2 separate regions of the Homo sapiens genome follow, and region 1 is linked to region 2. Evidence: promoter capture Hi-C in human tissues and cell types (Jung and others, 2019). All regions are on one chromosome and are shown on one strand. The core of a region is centred on a gene start or on the middle of the fragment in contact, and the rest is flanking DNA. Distances in the headings are between cores, read along the strand shown.

Evidence for each region. Contacts are between HindIII fragments. The study calls those that stand out against the background at their distance.
Region 1: a fragment that was not itself captured here is called in contact with the fragment with the promoter of RBBP9 in region 2 in 1 of the 25 tissues and cell types used here (aorta).

Annotation. Positions count from the first base shown.
Region 1 is chr20:17,547,675-17,552,835 of GRCh38, reverse strand. It overlaps a transcript of BFSP1 not described here. Among named protein-coding and RNA genes, the nearest start is that of BFSP1, 19 kb to the right of the region's middle. The HindIII fragment of the contact is 4,704 bases long and covers 606-5,161 here.
Region 2 is chr20:18,495,301-18,501,135 of GRCh38, reverse strand. It overlaps RBBP9 (RB binding protein 9, serine hydrolase), which reads left to right and starts at 3,911. Exons shown (of 5, transcript NM_006606.3): 1 at 3,911-4,067; 2 at 5,256-5,298. The coding sequence starts at 3,969. RefSeq lists enhancers at 3,749-3,808, 3,909-3,958, 3,562-4,126, 3,979-4,138, 4,309-4,358. The HindIII fragment of the contact is 15,876 bases long and covers 2,192-5,835 here.

The sequences.
Region 1 (5,161 bases), core at 1,708-4,207, 950 kb after region 2:
ATTAAAACAGAAATCTTGATATTTTTCCCCCAAATCTGCTTCACTTCCAGTCTTCCCCATCTTGTAAATGTCAATTTCATCCTTCCAGCTTCAGATTTTATCCTTGTCTCTTCTCTTTCACATCCCACATCAGTACATTCTGTTGGTTCTACCCTCAAAATATATATAGAATTCTATCACTCCTCATTACCTCCATTGCTATCACCCTGGTCTAACTCACCATCACCTCTAAACTGGATTACTGCAATGGTCTCTTGGCTGGTCTCTCTGCTTCTGCTATTCTCAGCACAGCCATGAAAGCCATGCTGTTAAGTTGTAGGTCAGTTTATGCCACTTCCTTGCCAAAATTATCAAAGGCTTCCCTTTACTCTCACAGTGAAGCCAAATCCTTATGGAGGATTTGTAGAAATCCCGTGGGATCTGTCCTCTCGTTGCCCTTCCTGACCTCATCTGACCCGCACTCTATCCTCACCTGCCCCACTCTTGCCATGATGGCCTCTGCACCCTTCCTTGAACAAACCAGGCACATCCTATTATATTTATTCTTCCCCATGTTTAGAACGCTCTTTCTTCAAGAATCCAAATGGCTTTCCCATCACTTCCTTCCGTTCTCTACTCAGATGTAACCTCCTCAGTGAGGTCTTCTCTGACCACCCTGTCTAAAATTACCAGATGCCCCACCATCCTCCCAGTTCCCTTTTCTTTATTTTTCTCTGTAACACTTATCACCACTTATTATACTCTATTTTTCACTTATTTATCTTATTTACTTTCTGTTTTCTCCAATTGAATATAAGCTCCACAAGAACAGGGATCAGGGATTTTTATTTTCTTCTTTTTTTTTCTTTTTGAGAGAGAGTCTTGCTGTTGTCGCCTAGGCTGGAGTGCAATGGTGTGATCTCGGCTCACTGCAACCTCTGCCTCCTGGGTTCAAACAATTCTCCTGCCTCAGCCTCCTGAATAGCTGGGATTACAGGTGCCCGCCACCATGCCCAGCTAATGTTTTTGTATTTTTAGTAGAGACGAGGTTTCACCATGTTGGTCAGGCTGGTCTTGAACTCCTGACCTCAGGTGATCCACCCGCCTCTGCCTCTCAAAGTGCTGGGATTACAGGTGTGAGCCGTCACACCCAGCCTTATTTTATTTTTTTCACTTCTGTATCCCAAGGCCCAGAAGAGTGTTGGCACAGGGTAGGTTGTCAATACATATTTGTTGAATAAATACATGAATAAGATTGGTGGTGTAGATGTACAAGTGATTTCAGGTACAGATGTGATACCTAAGGGTAGCAGCCATCTGTGAGCTTGAGCACTGATATAGTTTGGATGTTGTCACCTCTAAATTTCAAGTTGAATTGTAATCCCCAATGTTAGAAGAGGGGCCTGGTGGGAGGTGATTGGATCGTGGGTGTGGATCACTCATAAACGGCTTAGCGCCTTCTCCCTGGTGCTGTCTTTGTGACAGTGAGTGAACTCTTGAGAGATCTGGTCATTTAAAAGTGTGTGGCACCTCTCTGCCTTCCTCCCACTCTCACTGTGTGACCAGACAGCTCCCCCTTTGCCTTCTACCATGAGTAAAAACTCCCTGAGGCCTCCTCAGAAGCCGAGCAGATGCTGGTGCCATGCTTCCTGTACAGCCTGCAGAACCGTGAGCCAACTAAACTTCTTTTCTTTATAAATTACCCAGTCTAAGGTATTTATAGCAATGCAAGTATGGCCTAATACAGGCACTAAGCCACATACTAAAGCCAGCAGAGTGAAGAGTTGGAATGAACCTGGGACTGAAGGCTCCACCACACTCGCCCTGAACTGCCTACCTCTGGACTGCATGTCATCATGTTAGGGAAGCAGGAGCATAGGAGAGCCAGAGTGGCACCATTTTAAAATCAACTCCATCGTAAAACTGGCAAGGCACATTTCTTGTCTATCATGACCTGTGGTTATATGATGTTTACAGCTGAGGAAACAGCTTAACAATGCCTGCAAGGATAAACTATGACAGAAAAAAATGTCCAGATGTCCTGGTATTGCATAATAATACATGCTTTTAAAATGATTGTAGTTGGCCAGGTACGGTGGCTCACGCCTGTAATCCCAGCACTTTGGGAGGCCGAGGCGGGTGGATCACCTGAGGTCAGGAGTTTAAGACCAGCCTGGCCAACATGGTGAAACCCCATCTCTACTAAAAATACAAAAATTAGCCGGGTGTGGTGGTGGGCAGATGGGCACCTGTAATTCCATCTACTCAGGAGGCTAAGGCAGGAGAATAGCTTGAACCTGGGTGGCAGAGGTTGCAGTGAGCTGAGATCACGCCATTGCCCTCCAGCCTGGGAGATAAGAGTGAAACTCCGTCTCAAAAAAAAAAAAAAAAAAAGGATTATAGTCATGCTTTGATGTACTTATGCACTAAAATGCCAAGAACAGTTTTCTTTAAATCAACAAACTAATAAATCTTGTGACACTGTCAGCCCCCCAACAGGTAGATATAGCTTAACTTTTATATAGGTAAGACCCTATATAAGAAAAATTTAAAACAAAGATGAGACATTTCTCCTCTTGCTTTCTGAGGACACCCTACTCTGTAACTAAGTGGCTTTTAATAAGCTTTCTCTTCTCACTGTTCTCTGTGACTTGCCTTGACTTCTTTCCTGCACAAAGTCCAAGAACCCCCTCTTGGTGTCTGGGTCAGGATCCCTTTCCTGGCAACAATTAGAGAAAAATAATCCTGATGTGGGTAAGCCTGTTGTGTGCATCTGAAAGCAATCCCGAGTGGTACTACCTCATGGCCTGGAAAGGTTGAGAACTATTCTGAGGGTAAATAGAGAAGTGGGCTTGGGACAGATCTCCTAGTGATATGGTTTGGATCTATGTCCCCACCCAAATTTCATGTCTAATTGTAATCCCCAGTGTTGCAGATGGGACCTAGTGAGAGGTGATTGGATCATAAGGGTAGATCCTTTATGAGTGGTTTACTTTTTATTTAATTAATTTATTTATTTTTGAGACAGGGTCTTGCCCTGTTTCCCAGGCTGGAGTGTAGTGGCACGATCTTGGCTTACTGCAACTTCTGCCCCCCGGGTTTAAGTGATTCTTGTGCCTCAGCCTCCTGAGTAGCTGGGATTACAGGTGTGTGCCACCACGCCAGGCTAGTTTTTGTATTTTTAGTACAGACGGGGTTTCACCATGTTTCCCAGGCTGGTCTCGAACTCCCGACCTCAAGTGATTCACCCTCCTTGGCCTCCCAAAGTGCTGGGATTACAGGCATGAGCCTACTGTGCCTGGACTGTGAATGGTTTGGCACCATCCCTTTGGTGCTGTTCTCGTGATAGAGTTCTCATGAGATCTGCTTGTTTCAAAGTGTGAAGCACCTCCCCACTCTCTCTCTTGCTCCTGCTCTGGTGATGTAAAACGTGCTTGCCCCTGCTTTCCTTCTGCCATGATTGTGAGTTTCCTGAGGCTTCCCCAGAAGCAGAACCTGCCATGCTTCTTGTACAGCCTAAGGAACCATGAGTCAATTAAACCTCTTTTCTTTATAGATTACTCAGTCTTGGTATTTCTTTATAGCAGTGCGAGTACAGACTAATACAACCAGGAACCCCAGTAATTCAAAGATGTGATATTTAAGAGGATTCGTTCTAGAGGCTGAGAAGGAATAACAAACATGGCAAAACACAGAAGCAACTGGATTCATGCAGCCAAGATCAAGTGCTGCAAAAGGGAAATATGGGGCTGGCATAGTGGCTCACACCTATAATCCCAACAGTTTGGGAGGCCAAGGCAGGGGAATCACTTGAGACAAAGAGTTTGAGACCAGCCTGGGCAACATAGTGAGACTCTATCTCTACAAAAAATAATTTAAAAACTAGCCTGATGTGGTGGCATGTGCTTGTAGTCCCAGCTATTTGGGAGGCAAGGGCAGGAGGACCCCTTGAGCCCAGGAGTTTGAGGCTATAGTGAGCTATGATCACACCACTGCACTCCAGCCTGGGTGACAGAGCAAGACCTCATCTAAAAAACAAACAAACAAACAAACAAACAAAACTACCACCACCAAAAAACAATAAGTATAAGAATCTGTTTTCTTTTGTAAAAATACACAGTTGGAGACTGGTTATTTTACCAAGGCTTTGACTGAAATGTTATGCTTTTAGACTGATTTTTTAAAAATTGAGGTTGACTCCAAGAACTGATAAAAGCCCCTTGGAGAAGACTGGCATCATACTCGGTCTATGCAGTCTCTGTACCTGGTGAGAAAAGAATGTCACTTTCTAATGGCCCAAGAACCCCAAGTTATCTTGGGACCTCCAGAGGAGAGGAATTCACCCAATTCATACAGGTATTTGCAGGAACAGATAAATTTGTGGCTGGGCTTGAGGCTTTAACAAGTCTGAATCTGAGATTTCTTATGTAAAAAGTTTCAGCAAAGCCAGTTTAAGAGAGCCTGTAAGGCAAATAATTATTATTGGTAAACTTTATGCAAATCATCAGGCCAAGAATAGTAAGACTAAAACTTATTTTGTAAATAAATTGATCGTACCATAATTTGTTTTTAATAAAAATGAGAGACTAGAGAGAAAAACATTATCATACACATGCTATTAGATTCTAGCCTTGTCTGTCGTTTTTGAGGGTTTTTCTTTTTTTTTTTTTTTTTTTGCATTATTTTCTGCAATTTGGACTAGATCTTAAATTCTTTCCAGGCTACAACTCCAAACTAACATTCTCTGGATAGATTATGCCCACTATTAATATTTGTTTTTCCCCCGTTTCCATAAAAATGCCTCTATTGGCTGGGTGCAGTGGCTCACAACTGTAATCCCAGCACTGTCGGAGGCTGAGGCAGGCAGATCCCCTGAGGTCAGGAGTTTGAGACCAACCTGGCCAAGATGGTGAAACCCCTGTCTCTACTAAAAATACAAAAAAAAAAAAAAAAAAAAAATTGGCCGGGCATGGTGGCATAAGCCTGTAATCTCAGCTACTTGAGAGGCTGAGGCAGAAGAATTGATTGAGCCTGTGAGGCAGAGGTTGCAGTGAGCTGAGATTGCACCACTGCACTCCAGCCTGGCAACAGAATGAGACCTTGTTTCAAAAAAAAAAAAAAAGAAAGAAAAAGAAAAAAAACATGTCTCTTATTAAAAATCCACTTGCTTTATGTTTTAGAC
Region 2 (5,835 bases), core at 2,662-5,161:
ATTATAATCTTCTCAATTATTATTGGCATAAACAACCTAAGATGAGAGTTAATGTCACTGCCTTTTTTCTCCTTCTAGAAGAATGAGCTAACTAAATCTTAAGGGAAGCTAGATTGCTAGATCCTTTTTCAGCCCCCAGTTCCTGTTTAGGGAGTATCACTGCTTCTTGAACTAAAAACTACTAAGCAAACAACCAGTTGGTTATAGGAATGTCTCTGCTTGTTTTATGTTGACATTTTATTCCTTTTTTTTTTTTTGAGACAGAGTCTCACTGTGTCACCCACGCTAGAGTGCAGTGGCATGATCATAGCTCACTGCAGTCTCCCATGCTCAAGTGATCATTCTACCTTAGCCTGCTGAGTAGCTGGGACTACAGGTGTACACCACCGTGCCTGGCTAATTTAAAAAATTTTTGAAGACATGGAGTCTTGCCATGTTGCCCAGGCTAGTCTCAAACTCCTGGGCTCAAGCAATCCTCCCGCTTTAGCCTCCCAAAATGCTGGGATTACTATTTTTAAATTTGAAAGAGTTATATTGAGGTATAATTGATGTACCTTAAGCTGCACATATTTAAAATGTACAATTTATTAAGTTTTGACACCCATCACCACAATCGAGATAATAAACATATATATCACCCCCAAAAGTTTCATGTCCCTTTGTTAATGGTGGAGGGTGTCCAGTTTCTTAGCGTCTTGAACAAACAATTAGACGAAACGCACAAAGAAAGGAAGGAAAGAAGGGTTTCATTGAAAATGAAAGTACACTCTACATTATGGGAGCAGGCCTGAGCATAAGGCCTCAAAATCCCCATTATAGAATTTTTGAGCATTTAAATACCCTCTACTTGGGGTACACCCTATGTAAATGAAGAGGATGAAGTAAAGCTACAAAGTCATTTAGTTGGCCTACACCCTGTGAAGAGGATATTTCCTGTCATTACCGAAGTGTGAATCGGCCTTCTGTTCCCTGCCTCCAGACCCTATTTTCCTGGCTCATCTGCCCGCTGAGAGATGTGATCCCCATAAATCTTTATGGGAGGCAGAGGGACTGATGGTCTTTTTTCTGTAACTGCTTCATGCTGGCTTGGGGTGTAGTCCCTACCTACTGGTGATCATGGAACTCGCCCTGCTCTATCTAGTGGAGGCAGGGTAGTTTCTTGATGGCTAGGGGTGGTGTCTTCACCTGGAACTGGCTGGAACCTTTGTTGCATGATCATCTGAAGCTTGATGGTCTCCAGACGAGAGGAAATTAATTTGGTTAAAAGATTTAATGGGATGGCCGGGCGCGGTGGCTCACGCCTGTAATCCCAGCACTTTGGGAGGCCGAGGCGGGCGGATCACGAGGTCAGGAGATCGAGACCATCCTGGCTAACACGGTGAAACCCTGTCTCTACTAAAAATACAAAAAATTAGCCGGGCGAGGTGGCGGGCGCCTGTAGTCCCAGCTACTCCGGAGGCTGAGGCAGGAGAATGGCGTGAACCCCAGGGGGCGGAGCCTGCAGTGAGCCGAGATTGCGCCACTGCACTCCAGCCTGGGCGACAGCGAGACTCCGTCTCAAAAAAAAAAAAAAAAAAGATTTAATGGGAACTTCATGGGGTGGATACCTACGCTGTCAGAGATGTTTGTTATAGAGATTTGCAGAAAAAAAAACAAAACCTAGTCTGTTCTAGAATCTATGTTTCCTTGAAGTCTTAGCACAAGCAACTCCATTTTGGTTTGGTTTGGTTTGTTGGGGCCTAATGCATGAGCTTAGTCCAAAACAATGGCCTCGCAAAATTTTGTGCAAAAAATTCCCCCTTTTTGGTCAGGTTCTCACTTAGGTGAGAGTGTGACCAAAACTTAGGGCCTTAGCGCCACTCTCAGTTACCATCATTTTGGGTTTCGGTCTCAGCACATCATTTATAGGTTTTGGTGTTCTCATGGTTGCACATTTCTTTCAGCTTTTGTCATTCCAGTTGAAGAGAGAACATCTGACGTTCTAGAGATGACCGCGTGCAAACATTTAAAACCTTTGAGAGAATACAGCACACCAGGGAGACTATTATTATAAATATTGGGAGGATAACACCAAGAGTTCGGGGTATGCTCCTAAACCCAAGGCCCCGATAAACCAAACCTCCTAAAATCAAATAGATCAAAGAATGAGCTAGATAAAGGGTTTACTCACTTGACTAAGCAATTTCTTCGTTAATCCTCTACCACTGAATTTATTTTTTTCTTTTTTCCTTTTTTTTTTTTTTTAGACGGAGTCTTGCTCTGTCGCCCAGGTTGGAGTGCAGTGGCACAGTCTTGGTTCACTGCAACCTCTGCCTTCCGGGTTCAAGCAATTCTCTTGCCTCAGCTTCCTGAGTAGCTGCGATTACAGGCACCTGCCACCACGCCTAGCTAATTTTTGTATTTTTAGTAGAGATGGGGTTTTGCCATGTTGGCCAGGCTGATCTTGAACTCCTGACCTCAGGTGATCTGCCTGCCTCGGACTCCTAAAGTGCTGGGATTACAGGTGTAAGCCACCGCGCCCAGCCAATGAGGGATACATTTCTAATCATTGCTTCTTTTACTTCAAACCATGGTAAAAGGACCTAACAAATGATGCCTTTCTAGAAGAGTGAAGGCCTACTGGCAATGTTTTCTTTAACCCATGATGTGGGTTAGAGGAGTGAACCAATGTTTTGTTTTTGACTGATTATGAAGCAATGCATGTACCATTAAAGTTTCTTACCTACTTCGGGCCTTCATCTTTTATCTATCAAAGTCTAAGTTTATCCATGTATAAGGCTGGCTGCAAACTCCTTCACAAATAAAAGTATACCCCATAAGTGCACATAACAGACCCCTTTTCCACTTCTATTGTTTGTAGAGGCATAAGGAAGACAAAAAATATTGAAAGATAAGAGTTTCATGGTAGTAGAAGTCTTAATCTGTGAACTTGGGAAAAGCTGTTCACATCAAGGATGCCATTTTCTTCTTGGGAGAAATTTCCCAGGGTAGCTTTACCTCAAAAGTTCCAATGGGTGCACTGTTCCAAAAGTGTGGAGGGACCGTTCTCATTTGCGAGACCATGAACCCAAAGCCCAAGGTCCTGAAGTTTTGTTGTAGTGTGGATGACAAGGACAGTCTTCTCCAATGTTTCCAGAAAATTCAAACCATAAAAAGCTTTCTTTACCGGGGGAAAATACACTGTAGCATAATAATCTACTGTTATAACATCAGCCCTCTTGCATGGGAAAGCTTTTATACAACCAGAATGACAAATTGGAATTCAAATAACAATTGAATGAAATCCCCTTACAAAATGTTTAAATGGCCCACCCGGTGACCAAATGTACATGAAGCTTTGTTTGTCTTCCCAGGAATATGGGACTAAGCATTGGTTATAAACTATTTTAAACAATTTCAGTATCAGCTGGTTTAATATGAAAATCTGACGAAGTATTTTCTTGGTATTTAATTAAATTTTTGCTTGTTTTACTTGGGTTAGTAGCTTTATGCAAGGAAATTTCATTCAAAGCAATGAAAAACAACAACCAGGGCTGATACTGACTACTAAAAACTGTTTTAAACTCAGAAGGAAAAATAATATGGATTTCAGGCGTTCCCAGGTTATAAATGGGTTTTCTGCATGTTTGAAACCAAAAACAAACTTTCCTATAGAAATATCAGTAAATCTAGCAAAGAAATAACACACCCCAACCGTGTCATAGCCTGTCTTAAATAAGGGAAAAACATGAGAGCACTAGTAAGAGGCAAGTAAAGGGTGCTTTGCTTTACAATTGATGGAAGCTCGCAGGCTTTGTTCTTGGCTGCCCCACGCAGCCAGCGGAAGGCAGGCCAAGGAGGAAAGAGCCCGGCCTCCCAGGTCCCCGCAACTACAACTCCCAGGATGCCGCGGCGCAGGCTCCCTGCGGGAGCAGGCTGGGCTCAGCTCCGCTGGACCCGCGCTGGGGAACTCTGGCCTCGCTGCACTCATGGCTTCTCCTAGCAAGGCAGTGATTGTTCCCGGGAACGGAGGCGGGGATGTGACCACCCACGGCTGGTATGGCTGGGTGAAAAAGGAGCTGGAGAAGGTAAGCGCCCAACGCCGCTGCTCCGTGAAGTCAGCCTGGAGGGAGGGACGGCGGGAGAGGACTGAGGGCTGAAGTTTGAATAGGCGTCTAATCCCCTCTAGCAAAGCCCTGTGTGTTTTCCTGCCTCTCCCCCGCTGCCTTCTCTTAAAGTCTGAGCTAGTGGTCGAATTTTGACTGGTAAAACTGCCTGGAAGACTTCTCTGAGGGCTCAGCCTTTAGAGTTAAAGGAACCCCTTTGAACTACCGAGGCTGAGCCCCTGAGCCCCGCCCCCCGTATCTGCTGCTGGTTCAGATTTGGGACTTCCCAGATAATTTTACATGTTCACTGCTTCCCGCTTCAGCTTTTAAAAAATTAAATATGCTATACTTAATATATACAAAGGATATACGTAACATGCGTCTACATTATGAGGCATAATGTAATGAATTACCAAACTAAAACCTGGGACATTGCCTATACATCATCTTCCAAACGACCCTTATGTCTACCCATCTCAGTCCCGTGCCATCCTGAATTTTTTCATCTGCTTCTCTTTTTAAAATTGAAGTACTTTTCAACCTATGAATATACCTTTTAAACAACAGACTGTTCTATTTGGCTTCTTGGTGAGCTTTATAAAAGTGGCATCTTACTGTAGGCTGACCTGTGCCGTTTGATTTTTATTTTTTAACCCTCTTCTGTAACCAGGCGGTAAGTCGGCTCCCTGGGTTGCTGTCCTCTAGAGCGGGTCTCCAGAATAGATTGCAGCGCTGTGGCTGAAAACCCTGGTCAGAGTTACAACCCCAAAGGTCAGGGCTGGAGCTTCTGAGAGTATGCTGTCTCCAAATTTCTGTATCACGTTCCTGTGCCACGTTTTACCTACTCCCTGGAACACAGTCTATTTGGCTCCAGGTCAGTCTGTCTAGAACACATTTGTTCATGCCTCTCTATAGATGCAGGCCTGTAGAGGCAAATATGGGTGTACAAATGCAGATATAGGTCTCTCTATAGAGATCAGCAGAGCTGCCTAGATACAGAACTACAGATGGAGTTCATGCGAAAAGATGGTCACTTAACCTACTTCATTTCATAACACAAGTTAATACTGAATTGGTAACGATCATATCAGGTGCCTCATTTCTTATTAGCAAAGTATTAGTTGTAATTAAGCTCTTTATTATAGCTTTTTCTCCCCCCTCATATCATAGATACCTGGTTTCCAGTGTTTGGCTAAAAACATGCCCGACCCAAGTAAGTTTTAAACTTGTTTTTAAATAGCCTCATCTTGTTGGGTTTTGATATTACCATTTTTGTGGTAGAGAACAAGAATATCATAGTGGAGGAACCAAAGATGCCTATATACCTAAGAAAGAATAAGGCAAGCAGCTTGGGGAGGAGGGTGTGAACCAAAAGCCATAGAAAATTCTTTTTTTTTTTTTTTTTTCAATTCTGTGAATTTGTCATTTTTATTTATTTATTTATTTATTTATTTATTTATTTATTTATTGATCATTCTTGGGTGTTTCTCGCAGAGGGGGATTTGGCAGGGTCACAGGACAATAGTGGAGGGAAGGTCAGCAGATAAACAAGTGAACAACGGTCTCTGGTTTTCCTAGGCAGAGGACCCTGCGGCCTTCCGCAGTGTTTGCGTCCCTGGGTACTTGAGATTAGGGAGTGGTGATGACTCTTAACGAGCATGCTGCCTTCAAGCATCTGTTTAACAAAGCACATCTTGCACCGCCCTTAATCCATTTAACCCTGAGTGGACACAGCACATGTTTCAGAGAG